Regions from separate parts of the Homo sapiens genome. Here regions 1, 2 and 3 are each linked to region 4. The links are contacts of gene promoters, found by promoter capture Hi-C in blood cells and fetal thymus (Javierre and others, 2016). All regions are on one chromosome and are shown on one strand. The core of a region is centred on a gene start or on the middle of the fragment in contact, and the rest is flanking DNA. Distances in the headings are between cores, read along the strand shown. Region 1 holds the start of ZNF527 (zinc finger protein 527). Region 2 holds the start of ZNF345 (zinc finger protein 345). Region 3 overlaps ZNF383 (zinc finger protein 383). Region 4 holds the start of SCGB2B2 (secretoglobin family 2B member 2).

Evidence for each region. The method cuts DNA at HindIII sites, captures the fragments that hold promoters and counts their contacts. A CHiCAGO score of 5 or more calls a contact.
Region 1: the fragment with the promoter of ZNF527 here is called in contact with the fragment with the promoter of SCGB2B2 in region 4 in 1 of 17 cell types (monocytes); the score reaches 5.8 in monocytes.
Region 2: the fragment with the promoter of ZNF345 here is called in contact with the fragment with the promoter of SCGB2B2 in region 4 in 1 of 17 cell types (monocytes); the score reaches 6.5 in monocytes.
Region 3: a fragment that was not itself captured here is called in contact with the fragment with the promoter of SCGB2B2 in region 4 in 1 of 17 cell types (monocytes); the score reaches 5.2 in monocytes.

What each region holds. Positions count from the first base shown.
Region 1 is chr19:37,369,127-37,374,547 of GRCh38, forward strand. ZNF527 (zinc finger protein 527) reads left to right here and starts at 1,973. Exons shown (of 5, transcript NM_032453.2): 1 at 1,973-2,100; 2 at 5,032-5,105. The coding sequence starts at 5,073. RefSeq lists enhancers at 1,343-1,482, 1,503-1,552, 1,723-2,032 and a silencer at 2,063-2,372. The HindIII fragment of the contact is 7,295 bases long and covers 1-3,944 here.
Region 2 is chr19:36,847,523-36,853,475 of GRCh38, forward strand. It overlaps ZNF345 (zinc finger protein 345), which reads left to right and starts at 3,354. Exons shown (of 3, transcript NM_001242472.2): 1 at 3,354-3,446; 2 at 4,308-4,382. It also overlaps a transcript of ZNF790 not described here. RefSeq lists an enhancer at 2,877-3,116. The HindIII fragment of the contact is 2,588 bases long and covers 3,117-5,704 here.
Region 3 is chr19:37,221,764-37,227,945 of GRCh38, forward strand. It overlaps ZNF383 (zinc finger protein 383), which reads left to right. Exons shown (of 6, transcript NM_001387601.1): 2 at 3,055-3,176. Among named protein-coding and RNA genes, the nearest start is that of ZNF383, 6.6 kb to the left of the region's middle. The HindIII fragment of the contact is 239 bases long and covers 1,197-1,435 here.
Region 4 is chr19:34,675,909-34,681,643 of GRCh38, forward strand. It overlaps SCGB2B2 (secretoglobin family 2B member 2), which reads right to left and starts at 1,251. Exons shown (of 4, transcript NM_001025591.4): 1 at 1-1,251. It overlaps ZNF302 (zinc finger protein 302), which reads left to right and starts at 1,770. Exons shown (of 5, transcript NM_001289187.2): 1 at 1,770-2,195; 2 at 2,829-2,905. The coding sequence starts at 2,897. It also overlaps the pseudogene ZNF807P and the pseudogene SCGB1B2P. RefSeq lists enhancers at 742-1,639, 1,299-1,398, 1,449-1,508, 1,640-2,536, 3,394-3,895 and a silencer at 1,959-2,018. The HindIII fragment of the contact is 5,389 bases long and covers 1-3,677 here.

The DNA.
Region 1 (5,421 bases), core at 723-3,222, 2.7 Mb after region 4:
AAAAAAGAGACCCGAAAGAATGAAAAACAAAAGTATTTCATTCTGGAACTAGACACAGAATGAAGACATTGTGTGAGGACCTGAGCTGCTGCAGCTACCTTGCAACCACATAAAGCAACACTGCCAATACATTGAGGACTGCAGAGCAGGAGGAAGGATTCTTGCTACAATTGGTCACCTGCTAAGCCAACTGAACTTCTTGCTAAGTGGGGAAATAAATATCTTTACTGTATAAGCTACTTTCAGTTGAGCATATAACTGTATAACTTCCTATTAAAAGCATCTTAATTGAAATTCCCAAATTCGTATCTCTAGTACCAACATTTCACTGAGCTCCACACACATATATCTAAATGCCTACTTGATATCACTCTTTTGAAATCCAACAAGCATCTGCGACTTAACATGATACCTCACCACCCACCCCATCCTAGATAACTGCCACATACTCATTTTCCCCTATCTTAGTAAATAACACTACCATTTTTCCAGGGGCTCAAGACATTTAGGCATTATATTGAACTTCTCTCTTTCCCTATATTCACAACCAAGCATCAGCAACTTCTGTTAGTTCTACACTCAAACTGTATCCCAATCTGACAATTTCTCATTGCCTCTTCCAGTGATGACCCTAATTCAAACCACCATCATCATAAGACCATTGGTCTCCAAAATAGTTTATACATAAATGAGCCTGTCATTGACATGTAGAGACCTGGGTCAACAGTACAGATGGAGGTCCCCAGCCAGTCCCCTTCTGTTCCCACTGCCATCCTTGTCCCACATCGTAAGAGGTCTTCTATTCCCACATGTGGACACTCCAGCTTGCATATCTAAGCTCTGTCTAGCCTTACCAAATTGCTCTCATTTGGCCACATTTTGTGGATAGGCAGCACATTCCACCTTTGGAAGACAGATCAAGGGAAGGGTCTTTGGACACAGAGGAGATACAGGCTCTGGAAGCAGGCTGGAGTCCATTTGAACAGGAAATCCTGGGGATTTGGATACCCAGAGCATGGTCTGAAAGAAGGTTGTGAGATCTTTGCAGGCATGTTTCTGCCTATGGACTTTCACCAGGAAGGAAACTGCTTGACTAGAGGAGGGCCAAAGTGTGGCCTTTTGTATGTTTAATAATATTAAAATGTTAAATATATTATTTTGACCAATTGAGAAATAATAATAATAATAAAATAGGCCGGGTGCGATGGCTCATGCCTGTAACCCCAGCACTTGGGGAGGCCGAGGCAGGTGGATCACAAGTTCAGGAGATGAAGACCATCCTGGCCAACATGGTGAAACCCCATCCCTACTAAAAATACAAAAATTAGCTGGGCGTGGTGGCAGGTGCCTGTAATCCCAGCTCCTCAGGAGGCTGAGGCAAGAGAATCGCTTGAACCCGGGAGGCGGAGGTTGCAGTGAGCGCCGAGATTGCCTCAATAAAAGATACCACAGACCCCGCCCATGGCAGGAGATGGGGGTGAAGGAACAGTAAGACCAGGAGACAGTCAGATACACATCGGATCAGTGGTATCCTCACAGTAACAGAAACGGTCACCCCCAATGTCAGCCACAGTCTCTTTCATCCACAATCACTTTCACATTCAGCTACCCACAATCACGGGACGTGATTTAAAATACAGAAGCTCCCTGCACTGACAAAATCCGCCGCTCCTTTCGTCGGCAAGCATAAAGGTGTGCAGCAACAGTCACACACGAACCACCACACCCAAGCATTCAACCAGTCAGCCCCGCGCGCAGCCTGGCCGCTTTCCCCAACACAGCAGCTCAAGGTCACTGGAGAGCCTACGACCGCACACAGCCCTCTCCGGTACCTGCCCCCGTGGCGCAGGCGCGCAGTGGAGGGGGCCGCGGGGTTCTCTGGGAGATGTAGTTCAACGATGACGGCCGTGGCGCAAAGCGTTCTGGGGCTCGTGGTTCGCGGGGTCCATGGGGAACGCGGTGTCGCTGGTTCAGATCTCGCAGAGCTCAGAGTCCTGCATGCCTCAGTCCTCGCCTCGCTCCTCCTCGCGGAGGATTCTGGGAGGTGACGTCGCGGGTCTCGGTCGCGGGGCCCGTTTGCAGAGCCCGCGGCGCCGGGAGGTGAGTGGGGCCGGGCCCCGGGCGGGAGCGGGAAGTCAAGGGCGGGCTCCGGGTGGCCCGGCCGCGCCAGGGATGGGAACCCGGCAGGAGTCGCTGGGGAGGCCGTGTGTGTTTCACTGTATTACCAACTATGTGACAGGCTGCGGGTGTGACAGAATGTGATCTTGTGTCACTGTGTGTGTGTGTTTGTGCGCGTGCGCCCGCTTGTGTGTGACTGTAACCATCTGTGTCTGGGGGTGAAACTGTGAATATGTGTGTTTGTGTGTGACTGTCTCTGCAGGTGTAGCTGTGTATGTGTTTATGAGAGACTGGGGTGTGACATTGTGTGTTTGTGTAAATGCATGTGTGTGGTTATGTGACCACCTGTTTCTGCGGATACAATTGCGTTTGAATGTGTGTGACAGCAAGTGTGATTGTGCGACTATGACCATCTGTCTCCGCAGGTATAGTTTTGTATCAGTAATTGTGACAAGATGTGTGACTTCTGTGGTATGCTACTTTGTGTGTGATTGTGTGTGATTGTTTATCTCTGTTGGTGTAGTTGTATGTTACCATCTATCTTTGTGCTTATGTGGCTGTGTATTGTGTGAGATTATGGGTGTGTTTGTGTGACTCTATACATTTGTGATTGGGTGAGAATTTGTGTGTATATATGAGATTGTGGGATTGATGTATGAAGCACAGAAATATTAGAATTACCCAAGTTCACACAGTTAACAAGTGACAGCACCAGAACTCAAACCCAAGCAGTTTAGCTCTAGAGGTCTCGCTTTTTTTTTTTTTTTTCTCTTGAGATGGAGTCTCACTCTATTGCCCAGGCTGGAGTGCAATGATGCGATCTCGGCTCACTGCAACCTCCGCCTCCCAGGTTCAAGTGATTCTCCTGCCTCAGCCTCCCAAGTAGCTGGGATTACAGGCGCGCACCACCACGCCCAGCTAGTTTTTGTATTTTTAGTAGAGACGAGGTTTCACCATGTTTGGCCAGGCTGGTCTCCAACTCCTGACCTCATGATCCGCCCACCAGAGCCTCCCACAGTGCTGGGATTACAGGCGTGAGGCGCTGCGCCCTGCTGCAGTTTTTATGGACAATTTCAAGCTGCACTACACTAAGGAAATAACTGCTAGGGACTGAGTTGCCTAGTGCAAAGTAGTCCAGAATTAGGGGGTGAAATTAGGGGGTGATGTATACTGAATTCTAGGTCAACCACAGTTGTCCCTTTCTTTTCTTTTCTTTTCTTTTCTTTTTTTTTTTTTTTTTTTTTTTGAGACAGAGTCTTGCTCTGTCCTGTAGGCTAGAGTGCAGTGGTGCAATCTCGGCTCACAGCACCCTCTACCTCCTGGGTTCAATCAAGCCTCCCACCTCAGCCTCCCAAGTAGCTGGGACTACAGACACATGCCACCACGCCCAACTAATTCTTGTACTTTTTGAGGAGATGGGGTTTTGCCATGTTGCCCAGGCTGGTCTTGAATTCCTAGTCTCAAGTGATTTGCCCACCTTGACCTCCCAAAGTGCTGGGATTACTGGTGTGAGCCACTGTGCCCAGCCTGTCTCTATTTTTACAATGAAGAAATGTTGGCTCTAAGAGGACAAGGAACTTACTTCAGATTGCCCAGTTTGTTGTTGCTTTAGTATTAAAATTTGGCGATGTTTCCCTCAGGCTGCATTTCTGTAGAGAAATAAAGGTAACACCTGCCATCTCTAAAGATGCCTCTCTAAGGAATATATGGCATTGATTACTCGGGTTGTGTTGAATATTTCCCATTCAGACATCGTGGCCTCTCAAAAGAGGACTGGTTTTGAGGTCACATTTCAGTTGGACCCCGGACTTTGAGTTGGTTGTTTAAGCTTCTGGAACCTCCCTTTTACTACCAGTAAAGTGGAGATATTAATACCTATCTTTGTAGTTTTGTGGAGCAGTAGTAGTTCTGAGGATTAAATGAGATAATGACACAATGAGATAACCATGTGTGACAGTCTCTCTATCTTTGTGCTAATACGGCTGTGTGTGTGAGAGAGAGAGATTATGCCACCGATTGTGTAAATGTGTATATGTTTGTGATTGGGTGAGAATTTTATGTGTATGTGAGATCACGGGATTATGTCGGACCTAGTCTGATTGTGAGGCACAGGAAGATTAAAATTACTTGCCCAACACAGCATGAGTTAACATTGTATATTTATATTACATAAGGCACAGTAAAATTTATTTATTCATTTATCTAATTTTTTGAGAGACTACAATGGTCTGGTGGTGTTCTGTCATTAGAATACACCTGTGAACCAAACAAAACCTAGTTCTCTTGGATCTTACAATCTTGCATGGGAAGAGAAACAATAAAGAAACAAAGCAGTATGTAACATGTCCAGTGGTGATAAATGCTGAGAAAAAAATAATTCAGGGTAAAGAAAAATGGAGTACCTGGAACAGGGGTTCCCTTGAGGTAGAATTTTCAGGGAAGTCCCTCTGATGAAGGGACACCTGAATGCAGATAGGAATAAAGAGGAGTGGCCCATGCTGGTGTCTGGGAGAAGGTTCCAGACGGAAGGAAAAGTCCACAACCCTGAAGAAGGGGTGTACAGTGTTTGAGTAACAGTAGGAAGACATGTGCCTGGAGTGTGGCGAGTAAGGGGCGGAAGGGTAGGAAATTAGGTCAGAGGTGCAGCCAGGGGCCAGATCATGAACCACCTTGTTGGCCGTAGGACAGACTTTGGATTTTGTTGAGTTCAGGCTATGCGTCCTTAATATATAAGTCAAGACTTTGGGAGTTAAGTTCAGCATTGGATTCCACCCCGCCACCCTGGCCAGATCTTGGAAAAGGTGAGGCTGGCCCATGTAGGGAGAAGAAAGGGGCAGTAGTATTTTTGTGGGTCTTGGACCAAAAACACAGGGCTGGCACATCATCATTTCTTCATTAACTCTCCCTTCTCAGGACTTTGTTCTTCTTCAGAAGAGAAAACTGAAGAAGGAGGAATGGCTGTGGGGCTTTGTAAAGCCATGTCCCAGGTAAGCATGCTCTTTCACTTTGTTTTCAGACATTTGACCTCATTTTTCAGGACTTTGGGACCACAGGGAAAATCACAAATAGCCCAATGAGCACCCCTTCCACTTCTCTCTCCACCTTTTGTTCATATAATCCTTCTACAAAACATTTAATATCTTTTTTAGTCAGTGTTATGCTCAAATGTGTGATGGAGCAGAGCTATCCTCTTTAGATGGATGATGATTTGTTGAGTCGGCAATGAGTGCAAGTGAAATAAGGGATAGAGTTTGATTACTGAGTGATCTATTAAATAGGGAGGTCAAGGATGGCCTCTCTGAG
Region 2 (5,953 bases), core at 2,104-4,603, 2.2 Mb after region 4:
GTGGATCACCTGAGGTCAGGAGTTCGAGACAAGCCTGGACAACATGGTGAAACCCCGTCTCTACTAAAAATACAAAAATTAGCCGGGATTGGTGGCATGTGCCTGTAATCCCAGCTACTTGGGAGACTGAGACAGGAGAATCACTTGAACTGGGGAGATGGAGGTTGCAGTGAGCCAAGATCACGTCATTACACTCCAGCCTGGGCGACAAAGAGAGACTCTGTCTCAAAAAAAAAAAAAAGAAGTGGAGCCCTTAGGAGGTGATTAAATTATGAGGGAAGAGCCTACATAGATGGAATTAGTGCTTTCAAAAAAAGGATTGAGGGAATGGGTCCAGCCCTTCAGTACCTTCTGACATGTGGGGACACAGCATTCCTGCCCTGTGGAGGATGCAGCAGCAAGGTCCCATCTTGGAATCAGAGAGCAGACCTACCAGACACCTATCCTGCTGGCATCTCAATCTTGAACTTCCCAGCCTCCAGAACTGTGGGAAATAATTTTCTATTATTTACAAATTACTTTTCAGGTATTTTGCTTCTCAGGTATTTTGCTGTAGAAGTACTAAGGGACTAAGACACTTCAGTTCCTGAAATAGCACCAGAGTAATAAATGTGAAAGATGTCTTTACTGTTCATTAACCAACCCCTTTCAACCACAAGTGAGTTAATGAGGTGAAGTTAGTAAAGCCCCTACATAACCACAGGATAGGGCAACCAAACATGTGATTAGAATGTTGGAAAGTTCTGCCCTACCCCATGACTTCTGGGAAAAGGAAAAGGGCTGAAGGTTGAACTCATCACCAATCGCTGCTGATTTAATTAATCATGCCTACATAATGAAGCCTTCATAGAAACACAAAGGGCTGAGTTCAAACAGCTTATTTCCCGGACTACCCCACAGGCGTTTTCTTTTTTCTGTTTTTTAGGAGACATTGGTGGGGTAAACATACAAAAATGTGATTGCCTCACTCAACCAAGAGCCTTAGCCATAATTAAAAGATGTTCAGATGGAGCTGTACAGGAATGTGATGCTGGAGAACTAGAGCAACAGAGCCACATTAGGTATAGATCGCTTGCCTGTATAGTCCAAATTTTGTTGTTTTTGTTTTTTGGGTCTTTTTGTTTGTTTGTTTGTTGTATTTTGTTTTGTTTTAAGGAGCGGAGAGTTTAATAGGCAAGAAGGAAGGGAGAAGACAGAAGGAAGAAGTTCCCCCATACAGAGATGGGGGTTGGGGGGGTGGTGGCTCCAAAGCCGAAAGAGGAGGTCCCCTTGTTTTTTGGGGGTTTTTTGAGACGGAGTCTCACTCTGTCATCCAGGCTGGAGTGCAGTGGTGCGATCTCAGTTCACTGCAACCTCTGTCTGCCGGGTTCAAGCCATTCTCCTGCGTCAGCCTCCAAAGTAGCTGGGATTACAGGTGCACACCACCACGCCCAGCTAATTTTGTATTTTTAGTAGAGACGGGGTTTCACCATATTGGCCAGGCTGGTCTTGAACTCCTGGGCTCAAGTGATCCACCCACTTCAGTCTCCCAAAGTGCTGGGATTACAGGCGTGAGCCACCGCACTCATGCTTGGTTTTTTTGTTTTGTTTTGTTTGTAGAGAGTATGCTGTTCAGGCTGGTCTCAAACTCCTGAGCTCAAGTGATCCTCCTGCCTCAGCCTTCCAAAGTGCTGAGATCACAGGCATGAACCACCATGCCCGGCCCTTCCTGCCATTGTTAAAAGCTTCAGGATTATATTTTACATCAGCATTTCCTGTTGTCATACACTTCCTGCCATCATATTTCGGCAACCTCTACCACCTCCCAAAGTTTCTAGCTTAAAAAATTATTGATTTCCTCCTAGCTCCCCTTTCTGTCAGTTTTTTAATTTTATATTTGTTTTCAAATGAGTCCTCACATTGATTTTAAAAATTTAACAAGAGTATAGTGAAAAGGAAGTTCCCCTTTCACTATTTATCTTCCCCATATGCATCTATTATGACGGGTTTCTTTTTTAAACTACTTGGAGTACTCATAACTGATTTTGTACTCTAGTTCAGAAGAAATGTCTGAATGTTAAATGTTTACATAAAAAATGCTATTTTATTATATCAGTAATGGAGCTTCCCCCCTTTAAAACTGCTGCACCAGGAAGATACAACCTTGTTATCACAATTTAAAGAGAAAATGAGACTTGGAGGTTCAGATTCCTCCACAGTCATAGTATCAGCTACCCACGCAGTGACCCACATTCAGGTGATTACACACACTCATACACAGATCCATACACGATCTTGCCCCCCCCACCTCCACACACTCAATATGACCTCCCCACGCCCAAAGCTGCACACATCTTGACCTCACTTCTCTCACACACACACCAATCTGACCCGCACGCGGTTTCTTTCACTCAACTACCCAGACACCCCTCATCCCACCAGCACAAGCAGGCCCACCGCGGTCTCACACACACTCGAGCCTTCCTTTGCCCAGTCTCACATGCATGACTGGGATCGCGGATTTGTCCCCTTCCGACTCCCCATGCTGGTTCGGTCCCAGACGCTCAGGTGCCACATTGGGGTGCGCTCTCCCGGCTCCTCCACACGCTACGCAGCTGCCCGCCTCAAGAGCGTCTGCGTGCTTCCAGCGTTAAGTGGAATTCCAAGCAGCCTCCGGGGCACAGTTAGTCTGGTCACTGCGGCCAGACTGCCGCCTCAGGACCCAGAGAACGCAGCACACTTTAGTTGGGCCCATCTATCCCCGGCGAGGCTTGGACTACGTTTCCCAGGAGACCCTGCGGTCCAGTATGTCTCCCGAGGAGGGGCGGAAGCCCGGGAGCCGCCCTCTGAGGCTGGGCGGGGTGAAAGAAAGCTTGCCCCAGAGGACTTAAACAGGCAAGAAGGACTTGGTTAAAGACTATTGCAATAGTCAACTTCCAATACAACAGCAGCTGGAGATTTATAGCTAACGGGCTGGGTGAAGGAGTTAAAGGATGCTAAATTACTAAGAGGAAGTTAAGTATCAAGAGTGGGGGGATTGTTACTAAACTGGCTTAGCTGGATTCTTGCTGAAGTGCTGTTCGCAGGCTATGGAGGAGGCCTGGCCAAGCAAAAAGGGCTCAGAGGAGCCTGACTAAAGCTTGGTCTAGGGACTCCTTGTCAGGTGAGACTCCCGGAAGGCTCCGATGGGCAGCTCACCTCAAAGAGATAGTTTTGTTGGTGCCAGAGTCCGCGCCAGGGGAATCGGGATGGCTGGGCTGTAGCTTTCGGCAACCTGTCGCTTTCTGGACTACACTTCCCAGAAGCCTCTAGGCCCAGGGCACTCTCCCGCGATAACTAGATTGTCTCTTGAGGAGTGGGCGGGATCTTCCCGCGGATTTGGGCAAGCGGCCTTGGGGCTTTGTGAGATAGCTAGGGTCGACTTGTGTGGATTCTAGTAGAACGGAGCTGACCCTATCCGAACAGGCGTAAGTGAGGCGGCTCGGAGCCTGGCGCGACAGGAACTCCCGACCTGTGTGGGCTGCGTGGGGAACAGGCTAAGGAGCGATTGTGAGGAGTGTGTACGGTTGTGACTGGGGGCGTGTGTCTGTGCGACCGTGTATGGAACTGTGAGGGCGGGGAGGAGGACTTTTTGTTTATGTTTGTGCGGGTGTGAGTAGAGTTTAATTGTGACCGGGTTGGGCACTGTGTTTGCGAGTGTGAGGTTCCTGGACCGCGGTTGTGACTGTATGTCCCCTTGGGGTGTGTGTGTGTGTGTTTACTACCATTTGCCGAACTGTGTGTAGTATGCCTTAATTTTGAGGTTTGTGGCTGCTTCCGTGTGTGTGTGTGCGCGCGCGTTGGTGATATTGTTGATGGAGGGTGCGTGTGAATTTGTTGTCATTGTGACCCCAAGGTGTATGTCACTGGGAATTTGAGAGATGCCCACGGACTCTGTGGTTGTGTCCGTGTCTACCCCCGTGGTGTGTATGAGTGTGTGATTGTGTGTTGTGTTTAGGTTTGGGGTGCCTGTGACGTTTATGTCCCTGCGGTGTGAGTGAGTTTGTGTGACTATGTGTCCGTATAGCCAATGTAGGTATGGGGAGTCTTTGTCTTTGTGACTTCAGCCATTGGAGACCCCTGTGAGCTCAGGGACAGGTTCTGCCCAGAACGGCATTGACCCTACCGTTGTCTGTGATGCCCGGATTAAGCAGGATGCCCTAGACTTCTCTGACCTTCCTCTGTAGGTGATGGGCAGTAGGGGCTGAGCAAAGATAACTTCTGACATAGTCAAACCAACTCCCTCTCAGAAGAACCTGATGTTTCCTGACTGCTTTCTCCTTCCTCAGCCCTGCCCTGCTTGGATAGAGGCCTCCGAACAGGAGTAAAGAATGGCTGTTGAACATCCACAAGGCACCTGCAAGGTAGCTTGTCCTGTCCTCTTGTTTAAGAAAAATCCCTTTTTCTTTGTCAGGACATAGTTGCTTTCCTTCTCTTGAAAATTCTTGCCTATGAGATGACCTGATCCCTGGAGTTTCCATTTTGAGAAAATGTGGTGTCTTCAAACCCCACCTCCCACACCTGATTTTCCCTTACTGATTTGTCAGATGGTTTTAATTTTTCTTTTTCTTTTTTTTTTCTTTCTTTCTTTTTTTTTTTTTTTTTTTGAGACAGAATTACAGGCGTGAGCTGCTGTGCCCGGCCTTATCCTTCTACTCTTGATGGACATTTGTCTTGTAATTTTTGGCTACTACAGGCAGTGTGACTATGATCATTTTGTGCGCATATTTTGGTACACATTTGCTTGCATTTCTTTAGAATATATACCTAGTGATTAAATTGCTGATAGTGGCTGGATGCAGTGGCTCATGCCTGTAATCCCAGCACTTTGGGGGGCCAAGGCGGGCGGATCACGAGGTCAAGAGATCAAGATCATCCTGGCCAACATGAGGAAACCCCGTCTCTACTAAAAACACAAAAATTAGCTGGGCGTGGTGGCACGCGCCTGTAGTCCCAGCTACTTGGGAGGCTGAGGAGAATCGCTTGAACCCGGGAGGCAGAGGTTGCAGTGAGCCAAGATTGTGCCACTGCCCTCCAGCCTGGTGACAGAGTGAGACTCCATCTCAAAAAAAAAAAAAAAAAGTGCTAATAGGTAGGGTTTGTACATCTTCAGTTTTACCAAACATTGCCAAACTGTTCTCTAAAGATACTGTACTTATGCCAGCAGTTTACAAGAGTTTTCTTAGCTCCACATCCATGCTAGACATCATAAAACTCTTAAATTTTTGCCAATCTGGTGGGTGTCTAATGTTATATTTAATTTAAATTTCCTTTATTGCTAATAAAGTTGAGCATTGATTCTTGGCCATTTGAATGTCCCCTTTTTTGTTTTTTTTGTTTTTTTTTTTTGAGACTGAGTCTCTATTGCCCAGGCTGGAGTGCAGTTGAATGTCCCCTTTTATAAGGTGTTGTTCAAATATTTGACCAATTTTTAATTGGGTTTTTCTCTGATTTACGGCAGTTGTACATATGTGTATATATCTTCTGTAAATTAATCTTTTTTCAGTTGTATGTGTGATAAGTATTTTCACCTGCTCTGGTTTGACTTTTCACTCTATGTGGTGCCTTTTGACAAATAGAAGTTCTGGATTTCATTGTAATAAAATCATTTCCTATGGTTAGTCTTGTTTAAGAAATTTTTGTCTACCTCAAGATAATGAAGATTTTCTTTGGTCTTAAAGCCAAAAGCTTGCTTTCTTTCTTTCTTTTTTTTTTTTTTTTTTTTGACTCGAAGTTTCGCTCTTATTGCCCAGGCTGGAGTGCAATGGCATGATCTCGGCTCACCACAACCTCCGCCTCTTGGGTTCAAGTGATTGTCCTGCCTCAGCCTCCCAAGTAGCTGGGATTACAGGCATGCACCACCATACCTGGCTAATTTTGTATTTTTAGTAGAGACAGGGTTTCTCCATGTTGGTCAGGCTGGCCTGGAACTAGG
Region 3 (6,182 bases), core at 66-2,565, 2.5 Mb after region 4:
GAAACCCCGTCTCTACTTAAAAAAAAAAAAAAAATACAAAAAATTAGCCGGGCATGGTGGCGGCCGCCTATAGTCCCAGCTACTTGGGAAGCTGAGGCGGGAGAATTGTGTGAACCCGGGAGGTGGAGCTTGCAATGAGCCAAGATTGTGCCACCGCACTCCAGCCTGGCCGACAGAGCGAGACTCTGTCTCAAAAAAAAAAAAAAAAAAGAAAAAGCATATTCCTTTGACCAGATCTCAAATCTGATAAGGAAATAAAACATAACTGGCATTACAGAAGCCCAAGTCTTGTCCAGTTCACTCACTACCCACTTCTCCTAAAGAGAACTAATAGTTTGTCTTCTATAGCCATAGACTAATTTTACCTATACTTGAATTTTGCTTGGCTTCTTTTTTTTTCACTTTTTTTTTCCTACTGTCAGTTTCACTTGGAGATGATGCTTGGCTTCTTTTGCTCAATATTGTATTTCGTATGTAATATGAATGTATTCTGTAATAATATGTAGTATAAATATATAAAATTCATCCATGTTGCTGCACGTTAGTTATAGGTGATATAATGAATATAGTGAACACATTATTATTGCTGTTTAAAATTCTGTTGTATGAATATAACACTTTTTTTTGTTTTTGAGACAGTTTCGCTCTTGTTGCCCAAGGTGGAGTACAATGGCACCATCTCTGCTCACCACAACCTCCACCTCCTGGGTTCAAGCGATTCTCCTGCCTCAGCCTCTCAAGTAGCTGAGATTACAGGCGCACGCCACCACACCCAGCTAATTTTTTGTATTTTTAATACAAACGGGGTTTCACCATGTTAGCCAGGCTGGTCTCAAACTCCTGACCTCAGGTGATCCGCCCGCCTCGGCCTCCCAAAGTGGTGGGATTACAGGTGTGAGCCACCGTGCCCGGCCGAATATAACACATTTTACTTATCCATTCCATTACTGATTGGCATTTGATTTCATATTGAGGCTGTTATGAAAAACGCTGCCGGGAACATTCTTTTACATGTCTTTTGGTGCACATATGAATGCATTTGTCTTGGGTGTATTTCTAGGAGTGAAATTGCTGGGTCATGGTTTCTGTATATGTTCAGCTCTAATAGATACTGACAGTTTTCTGAAATAGTGGTATCAATCTATATTCCAAACTGCAGTGTAGACTTTATGACAAGAATAGATTTTACAACAAGAAGCTTTACTAGAGATAAAGAGGAATAGTTTATAATAAAAAGATCAATTCACCAGTAAGATATAACAGTTCTGAATTTATATGCCTTCATAAAATGGCTTCAAATATATTTGACATAACTAAAAGAAGTAGTAGATAAATCACAATCTTAGTGGGGAGTTTTTAGCACTCTTCTCAATAGCTGACAGAACAAGTGACAAACCCAATAAAGCTATATGGTATTTGAACAGTGTGATTGACAAGCTTGACCTGATTGATATGTATAGAACAGTGTACCTTACAACTACATAATATACTTGCTTTTCAAATGCATATGAGACATTTATCCAAATTGATCATATGCTGGGCCACAAAGGGAGTCTCAATAAATTTCAAAGGAATGAAATAATACTGTAACTTTCCTGACCACAGTAGGTTAAGCTAGAAGTCAATAACAAGAAGATAATTGGAAATATCCCAGCCAGGTGTGGTGACTCATGCCTGTAATCCCAGCACTTTAGGAAACCGAGGCAGGAGGATTGCTTGAACCCAGAAGTTTTAGGCCACCCTGGGCAATATAGCAAGACCCCATTTCTAAATTTAAAAAAACAAAAATTAAAGAAATATCCCAATGTTTGGGATTTAAGCAATGTATTTATAAATAACTGGTGACTCAAAGAATAAATTGTGATAGATATTTAAAATATTTTAAACTGAGTGATAATGAAAAATAACATACCAAAATTATGTTTCTAAAGCTGAATATGAGGAAAATATATAGCTGTAAATGCATATGTTAGAAAAAAATGAATGTTGGCCGGGCGCAGTGGCTCACACCTGTAATCCCAGCACTTTGGGAGGCCCAGGCTGGTGGATCACGAGGTCAGGAGTTCAAGACTAGCCTGGCCAAGATGGTGAAACCCCATCTCTACTAAAAATACAAAAAAAAGTAGCCAGGTATGGTGGCGGGCACCTGTAATCTCAGCTACTCAGGAGGCTGAGGCAGAGAGTTGCTTGAACCTGGGAGGCAGAGGTTGCAGTGAGCCAAGATCGCGCCACTGCACTCCAGCCTGGGCGGCAGAGTGAGGCTCCATCTCAGAAAAAAAAAAGAAAAAAATTAATGTTGAAAAATTAATGATCTATGTATTCATCTCAAGAAGCTAAGGAAAAGTCTAGAAAGTTAAACCCCCAAAATTAAAATCTAGGAAATAATAAGAATAAAAGCCCAAATATAAAATTTTTAGTTTATTTGGTATTGCATATATTTAAGGTGTACGTGTTTTGCTGTACATAACGAACATATATTGAAATACAAAATGAATGTACAGTGAAGAAAACTAACAAAGGCAAAAGCTTATTTTTGGGAATTAATAAAATTAATAAATCTCTAACAAAACTTAAAATATGAAGTAACACAAAAATTGCCAATATCTGATAAGAGGAAAATTAAACCAACCACAGACTTAACTTAAAGGCTGAGGGCTCAATTAATTAATTAGTGTTTGGTACCTGGGACTTGGTTCCACAAAATAAGCTCATTGGAATCTGAGCCACTGATCATTATACTGGGTCCCTTTTTATACTTCATTGAACATGTAGATTTTTCTGGTTTTTTGTTTTTTTCTTTTTTTGAGAGACGGGCCTCTCACTCTGTCACCCAGGCTGGAGTGCAGTGGTGCAGTCACAGCTCACTGCAAACTCGACCTTCCAGGCTCAGGTGATTGTCCCATCACAGCCTCCCGGGTAGCTGGGACTACAGACAATGTGCCACCATGCCCAGCTAGCTTTTTTTTTTTTTTCAATGATTTTGTTTTCATTTTAATTGTGGTATAAAAGACAATGTAAAATTTACCATCTTAATCTTTGTTTTTTTTTTTTTAGACGGAGTCTCACTCTGTTGCCCAAGCTGGAGTGCAGTGGCATGATCTCAGCTCACTGCAGCCTCTGCTTTCCGGGTTCAAGCGATTCTCTTGCCTCAGCCTCCTGAGTAGCTGGGATTACAGGTGGGTGCCACCATGCCTGGCTAATTTTTGTGTTTTTAGTAGAGACGGGGTTTCACCATATTGGTGAGGCTGGTCTTGAACTCTTGACCTCGTGATCACCTGCCTTGGCCTCCCAAAGTGGTGGGATTACAGGCATGAGCCACTACGCCTGGCCATCTTAATAATTTTTTTTTTGAGATGAGTTTTGATCTTGTTGCCCAGGCTGAAGTGCAATGGTGCGATCTTGGCTCACTGCAACCTCTGCCTCCCAGGTTCAAGTGATCTCCTGCCTCAGCCTCCCGAGTAGCTGGGAATACAGGCATGTGCCACCAAGCCCAGGTAATTTTGTATTTTTAGTAGAGACAGGGTTTCTCCATGTTGGTCAGGCTGGTCCCGAACTCCCGACCTCAGGTGATCCACCTGCCTTGGCCTCCCAAAGTGCTGGGATTACAGGTGTGAACCACCACACCAAGCTAATCATTTTTAAATGTACATTCCAGTGTTAAGTATATTCATATTGTACAATAGATCTTTAGAACTTTTTCATCTTGCAAACTGAATTATAACTATTAAGCTACAATGTCCCATTTCCCTCTTTCCCCAGCCCCTGGCAGCCACTGTTCTACTTTCTGTTTCTATGAGTTTGACTACCTTAGATACCTCTGTAAGTGGAATCATTTATAATAGTATTTGTCTTTTTGTGACTGGCTTCTTTCCAGTCACAATACCCCAAGATAGAAAGGGGATTCACTGCAGTTAGTCAGTAGACACACACAAACCCAAGTAGTAACGGGATACAATATAATAATGAATTAGTTGAATGCTTTGATAAATTAGTTTGACATGTTACTTTTTATTATCATTCAGTTTAAATTTTTTTTTTTTTTTTGAGAAGGAGTCTCGCTCTTGTCACCAGGCTGGAGTGCAATGGTGCGATCTCAGGTCACTGCAACCTCCGCCTCCTGGGTTCAAGCGATTCCCCTGTCTCAGCCTCCCAAGTAGCTGGGACTACAGGCGCGCACCACCATGTCTAACTAACTTTTTTTTTTTTTTTTGTATTTTAGTAGAGACGGGGTTTCACCATGTTGCCCAGGATGGTCTCGATCTCCTGACCTCGTAAAATATTTTTAACTTCCATTGCAATTTATTCTTTGAACCACCAGTTATTTATAAATACATTGCTTGAATCCCTGACTTAGCATAATGTCCTCAGGGTTCAAACATGTAGCATGTGACAGGACTTACTTTTTTGTAGTTGTTTATTTGTTTTAATATGCTTTATTTTTTAGGGTACTTTTAGGTTCACAGTAAAATTGAGCAGAAGGTACAGAGATTTCCCATACACGTCTTTCCCCCACACGTATGGTCTCCCCCATCATCAACATCCTCCACCAGAGTGGTACATTTATTACAACTAATGAACCCACATGGACACTCAGAGTCTATAGTTTACATTAGGGTTCACTCCTGGTGTTACACATCCAGGGGTTTGGACAAATGTGTAATGACATTTATCTCCATTATGATGTCATCCACATTAATTCCATTGCTCTAAAAGGCCTCTGTGCCCTGACTGATCCTCCCTCCCTGTCAACTCCTAATCTTTTTATTGTCTCCATAGTTTTGCCTTTTCCAGAATGTTGTAATCATACAGTATGTAGTCTTTTTGAATTGGCTTCTTTCACTTAGCAATGTGCATTTAAGTTTCCTAAGCTGTTGATCATGAGACTGAGTCCCTTTTTATACTTCAACAGACATGTAAGTTTCTATTTTTAATATAGATTTTAATTTTTGTAAGTTCATTTATTGGACAAGATGTGTGCTTTAAATTTTTGCATGGTGAAATCTGCAGTTTCACTATAAGATATATTGACCTGGGGTAGTCGTATTTTTAAAATTTATTTATTTATTCTTTTTTTGAGATGTAGTCTTGCTCTGTTGCCAGGCTAGAATGCAGTGGTACGATCTCAGCTCACTGCAACCTCCGCCTCCTGGTCCTCCTGCCTCAGCCTCCCAAGTAGCTGCGACTACAGGCGTGCGTCACCATGCCCAGCTAATTTTTGTATTTTTAGTAAAGACAGAATTTCACCATGTTGGCCAGGATGGTCTTGATCTGTTGACCTCGTGATCTGCCCGCCTCGGCCTCCCAAAGTGCTGGGATTACAGGCATGAGCCACTGCACCCAGCCAGGCTTTTTTTTTTTTTTTTTTTTTGAGACAGAGCTTCGCTCTTGTTGCCCAGGCTGGAGTGCAATGGCGCAATCTCGGCTCACCGCAACCTCCGCCTCCCAGGTTCAAACGATTATCCTGCCTCAGCCTCCCTAGTAGCTGGGATTACAGGCATGTACCACCACGCCCGGCTAATTTTGTATTTTTAGTAGAGACGGGGTTTCTCTGTGTTGGTCGGGCTGGTCTTGAACTCCCGACCTCGGGTGATCAGCCTGCCTCGGCCTCCCAAAGTGCTGGGATTACAGGCATGAGCCACCGCGCCCAGCCATCCGGCCAGGCATTTTTTAAAAAACTTAAATCTCCCTTGTTAATATCACTATATAATTATTAGGGGTTTAATATTGCTAATAGAATGTTTACTTCCTAGGCGATACCAGCCCTGCAGGGCCTGTGGGATTTTCTCTTTGTGTGTGGAGACGAGAGATTGTAGAAATAAAGACCCAAGACAGAGATAGAAGAAAAGACAGCTGGGCCTGAGGGACCACTATCACCAAGACACAGAGACCGGTATTGGCCCCGAATGCCTGGTCGCGCTGTTATTTATTGTGTATAAGGCAAAGGGGCAGGGTATGGAGTGAGAGTCATCTCCAGTGATCGGTAAGGTCGCGTGAGTCACGTGTCCACCAGACAGGGGGCCCTTCCCTATTTGGTAGCCGAGGCAGAGAGAGAGAGGGGACAGTTTACGTCATAATTTTTTAAATGTATTTTAAAGACTTTAGTTTTGTTACTGTCAAACAAAATTTGTAACTAATTTTGTTACTGTTATTTAGAAGGCAGAGCCAGGTGTACAGGGCGGAAC
Region 4 (5,735 bases), core at 1-2,500:
GTCTCGCTGGCTTCAAGAGTGAAGCTGCAGACCTTCAGGGTGAGTGTTGCAGCTCATAAAGGTAGTGCAGACCCAAAGAGCAAAAGAACAAACATCCCACACCTGGGAAGTAGACCCCAGCGCGGTTGCCGCTGGTTGTTCGGGTGGCCCGTTTTTATTCCCTTATTTGGCCCCGCCCACATCCTGCTGATTTGTCCATTTTACAGAGCGCTGATTGGTCTATTTTACAGAGTGCTGTTTGGTCCGTTTTTACAGAGTGCTGACTGGTGCATTTACAAACCTTTAGCTAGACACAGAGCACTGATTGGTGTATTTACAATCCTTCAGCTATACAGAAAAGTTCTCCAAGGCCCCACCTGATCCAGAAGCCCAGCTGGCTTCACCTCTCGGTTATATGCTAATTATATGCATTAGCACGCTAAGAGAAACGCTCATCAGTGCCATGGCAATTTACAAATGCCATGGTAAGGTTCAGAAGTTACCCTGTATGGTTCAAAAAGCTGGGAAGCCCTCAGCTCCGAGAAATTGAAATTGCCCACCTCTTTCCTGGAAAACTCATGAATAATCCACCCTTGTTTAGCACATCATCAAGCAATAAATACAAGTATCCCTAGTCCAGCAGCCCAAGCTGCTGCTCTAACAATGGAGTACCCATTGTTTCTTTACTTTCTTAATACACTTGCTTTGGCTTTGCACTGTGCTCTCCCATGGATTTTTTCTTGCGTGAGCTCTAAGAACTCTCTCTTGGGGTCGGATCCGGACCCCTTTCTGGTAACAGAAGCACTGCTTCACGAAGATCATGCAGGTCAGTACTTAATAAGTACAAAAAAGTCTATAGCGACACTATTTATAATTTTAAAAATGATTGAAGTCAATTAACATTTAAGTGTTAAAAAGAAAGTAAACAACCCAAATATACACAAACAGTAGACTGCTCTGGCTTGCATACAGAGAGGTCCATTGCCCTTTTGGGTGGGCCTAAGAAGCACTTCTGGGGAGAGGGGGCGTCAGGCTGTGATGGCTGCGGGAGGAGTGACTCCTCCCAGGATGAGGGTCTCCATCCTCCCAGTGCTCACTCAAGTTCAGTATTTCCAAGTCCTTCCAGGGGCGTAACGCACGTCAGAACGGCCATTAGTGTCACAGATACGTGTCCCCTTGCATTTCCAGGAAATGCCCTTGGTTGGCGAACTACAGTCGTGACAGTCGGGCCACAGGGCGTTTTGTGAGTTATCGTCTTGGGCAAATGAGTGCCAAAAAAAAAAAAAAAAAAAGACCTGAAGGTGAACAGCATAGCGGCAGGGTTTGGGATGAGAGGAGCCCCTTTGCTAGCAACGGCGAGCACTTGCGCGGTACCAGCAAGGGCTGCCCATGTCTCGGAGGGAAACGTTTGTGTGAGCGCAGGAATGACCCGGAAGACCTTGGCACGGCTGCAGTTTTCTGGGAAATGTAATTTCTTGGTCCGGGCGCCATGGCCCTTATAAGTAGAGGGTGTCCCTTGGTTTCGAGTTGTATCGTTCACCAGAGGACGACTGTGTGCCCCAGGACAATTTGCGCATGGTCCTAGCTGGCCGGCTCTAGGTCGACGGCCCCAGGCGGTTAAGCTACTTACAAAGCCGTGACCGGTTTGCCCGCGGCGCACCAGGTCCGCGCAGCCGCAGAGACCCTTGGGAAGTGTGGTCTTCGGGTGCCGGCGGTTCGCGGCTTCCGGGACATTTGTACCGCAGGGGGAGGATTCTGGGAAATGTGGTTCGCCGTGGGCGGTGCACTGGGTCAGTCCCGCGATAGCTTCAGGCCTGGCGGCGGCTTCCAAGCTAAGGAACGGTTTGGGGCAGTGTCGTTCCCGGAGGTCGGCCGCCGTTACCCGCTCACCAGCTACGCGGCGCGTCAGGTCCGCGGAGGCGCGGGCTCGGGGCGCCTGCGGGACGGTGAGGCCCTGCTGAGGACTCCGGCAAGTGTGGGTCGCGGCGACGGCGGGGCTAAGGCCCTGGGTCCGCGCGCGGTTTGACCACGGCCGGGGCCTTGGGCATTTCCTGGCCTTCCTGTTGAGCCGTGTAAACGCGGGGTGATGACGGCGCCGACCTCTTGGCACTGTTGTGAGAGCGAAGTGGGCGCGAGAGCAGACGCCAGCTACAGTTTTTTTTGGGTTATGTCGTCATGAAGCCGGCGCTTTCAGTTGTGCAACCTTGAACAAATGGGTTCAGTATCTCGGAATTTCAGTTTTGTCTTCATTTTAAAAAATAAATCTGGTTTAGAACTCGACCTCAAGCGATCCGCCCGCCTCCGCCTTCCGAAGTGCTGGGATTAAAGGCGTAAGCCACCGCACCAGCCTAACGAACATGGCGAAACGCCGTCTCTACTAAAAATACAAAAAAAAATTAGCTGGGCGTGGTGGCACGTGTCTATAATCCCAGCTATTCGAGAGGTTGAGGTAGGAGAATCGCTTCAACCCGGGAGGCAGAGGTTGCAGTGAGTCGAGGTCGCTCCATTGCACTCCAGCCTGGAGACAGAACGAGACTCCGTCTCAAAAAAAAAAAAAAAAAAATCTGGAATAATATGAATGCACACCTTGCAAAGTGGTGAAGACTGAACGAGCTGATAAAGTTGTTACCGTTGTTTTATGAGTCTTTTGTATACAGAATAATTGATTTTCCCCGCAGGTGGCACCTGGTAAATAGCCCTTGCGGAGAAACACCCTGTTCCTTCCCAGGGAGAGATTGACGCTCCGGCGAGTGATTACCAGTGTGCTTTTCCATTAAGGTGTGTGACAGGTGCCGCAAGATAAGCCCGATTTTTCATGACTGCTTTTTCCTGCCTTTCTGTGCCCTCAGGACACTGCCCATCTCTAAGATAAGAACCTGGAAAGGGGACTCTGTTGGCCATTGGAAATTGCAGAATAATGTCTCAGGTAAGTCGGTGTGTCCCCAAATCTTCCTGAAACACTTTATTAGGCCTCTGTGTGTTTGCTTTGCTTCTCCTGCCTGTTCCCACCTAATCAAGTCCATTTAAGGGACTAGATCTATGGTTCCTTTCACTATAGGAAGAATGGAGCCCACAGGAGAGCTCCAAGGTATTGTCCTCATCACCCAGTGTTCCTCTTTTCTACAGTTTTCTGCTAGAAGACTTTCTAGATTGCCAACATTTTAAAACTGTAATTCACAATGCAACTTTGGAATGTAAGGTTATTCGGTTTATGGTTGTCAAAACTGTACCATGTGGTCTCAAGTGAAGAGATGTTTGGAGTCATCCTTGATTCTTCCTTTTGACTTATAACTCATATTCAGGTCCTCTAGTTTGGATCTAAACGATACACCGTATACAGCATCTGACCATTAGTTAGCCCATCACCACCACCACCACTACCACCCCAGTCCGAGCCACCTGGATTATTGCGGTAGCCTCCTAGCTGGATTCCCAGCATCTGCCCTTAACCCTCATCAGTCTGTTCTCAGTACAGCTGTGACCATGGTCCTATTGTTATATAAATTCCTGTCATTCCGCAACCTAAAATTTTTCAGTGGTTCTAACTGAGTCACTTCTGCAATGACCTATTTGTACAATTAGGCCATTACCTCCCTGATCCCACCTTCCTTCTCTGCCTCCTCATTCCTGTGCGCTCCAGCCTCTGTCACCAGTTGCTGTGCCATCCACGTGGAATATTCTTCCCCCACATACGCACAAGCTTGCATCCTTATCTCCTTCTGTGTTTGTTCCGTGGTTACTTTCTCAGAACAGCTTCCCTGAAAGCCTATTTGCAATTGCAGTCACCTTCCCTAGCGCTTCCACTCCTCCATCACTGCTTTGTTGTTTTCCACAGTGTGTGTCACTCACTAGCTGATGTACTGTATGTTCAGTATATGCACGTGCTCATTGTCTGTTCCTGGTGGGAGGAATGCTTTTTCTTCTTTGTTGACTGTTATAGCGTCAGTACCCAGAGTGTTACCTGGCACCAAATGGATGCTTAGTAAGTAATTGTGGAGTGAATAAGATGAGTAATGAAGAACTGGTGGGGCAGAATCATGGCATGGAAGGTGAAGCTTGCACAGGAGGGGATGTAAGTAGCAGATGTACATCTTGGGTGAAGTCTGTTTTCATGGAATAATTAAGATAATTAGAATTGAAAAACTGGTGTGGTAGTGCATGCCTGTTGTCCCAGTTACTCGGGAGGCTGATGAGGTAGGAAGATTTCTTGAGCCCTCTGGTGTAAGCCTGTAGTGAGCTATGATTATGTCACTGCACTCCAGCTTGGTGACAGAGCAAGAACCTGCCTCTTGAAAGAAAAAACAAAGTAAAGGCTAAAGTGAACTAATGCCAAAACCATTCATTGGTTCATCTTCTAAACACTTATGAAGTACCTGTTAGGAAGAGTTGTACATGGATTTTGGTGTACACTGACACACAGGACTTCATGATCTAGTGCAGTATTGTCTAAGAGAACTTTCTGCAGTGGTGGAAGTGCTGTGCATGTGTACTGATCAGTACGGTAGCCAACAGCCCCATCTGACTATTGAGTACTTGAACTGTGGCTTAAGCAATGGAGAAAATAAATTTTAAATTTTATTTAATTATTTTATTTTTACATTTTAATTAATTTAAATGTTGTAGCCAAGTTGGCTAGTGGCTCCTGTATTGAAGATTGTGGCACTGGTAGAAAAGTAAGAAAGCATGGGAAATTTAAATAAGTGCTAGGATAGATATCCTATGTTCTTTTGGGAACTGAGATGAGTGAACATCTCAAGCTGCCCAGGCAACTGAAGGGGAAGAAAGAAGCATCCCTGGCTCTAAGTTGTAATGACTGGTTTGTCAAAGATATGAGAAATGTTATTTTTATTTGGGATATAGGCAATTAACACAGTGGCAACTCCAATTAACAGGTGAATTTAGAAGAAATTTTGTGTAGCAAATTGAACTGTCAAATCTTACTTGAGGATAAGTTATTGTTTATTTGGAAAATGTGTGTTGGATTGTATCTGCTTGCCTATATAAAAAGATGAGATTTCTTCCTGTCCTTTTCATCTCAATAGTGGATCGCTTGTGAAGTGCATCAAGGTCTGATTTAGCTTATTCAGTAATAAAACTGCTTTCTTTTTTTTTCTACATTTGTGGAGAGGATTTTCTGCCATTGGAAGGCGATTCGAATTTTAATTATTTTCTCCAAACCTGAGAAAAGTAAATTCTGCCTTTAAAACCAAAGATCCATGTCACTGGTGAACATGCATGCAAAATATCCAAATAAAGTAATACAATACTGAATGAACTCTCAGAGCTAAAAAATTACCACAGTAGAGCAGTCTGTTTTACAAATCACAGACAGTAATAACTCTGTATTAAATGGCTGTACTTTTTGCACATATTATAATTTGACTAGCCAATAAGCTATTATTGAATATTTAAACTTCTAAAGTTTTACTATTTTAAATAATACTGTGAAATGAGTACTATTGAGAAGAATTTCTAAGCACATCTGTGAGCATTTCCTTAGAATATTTTCTTTGAAATCTACTCTTATTTTTTTCCCCTTCCAGGTCCTATTTAAGGACTGTCTATGGCAGGAGTCCTCAACCTTTTTGACACCAGGGATCAGTTTCGTGGAAGACAATTTTTCCACGGAAGTGGGAGGTGGTGGAGGTGATGGTTTGGGGATGAAACCGTTCTACCTCAGATCATCAGGCATTAGATTGACATAAGGAGTGTGCAACTTCGATCCCTTGCATGTGCAGTTCACAGTAGGGATTGCG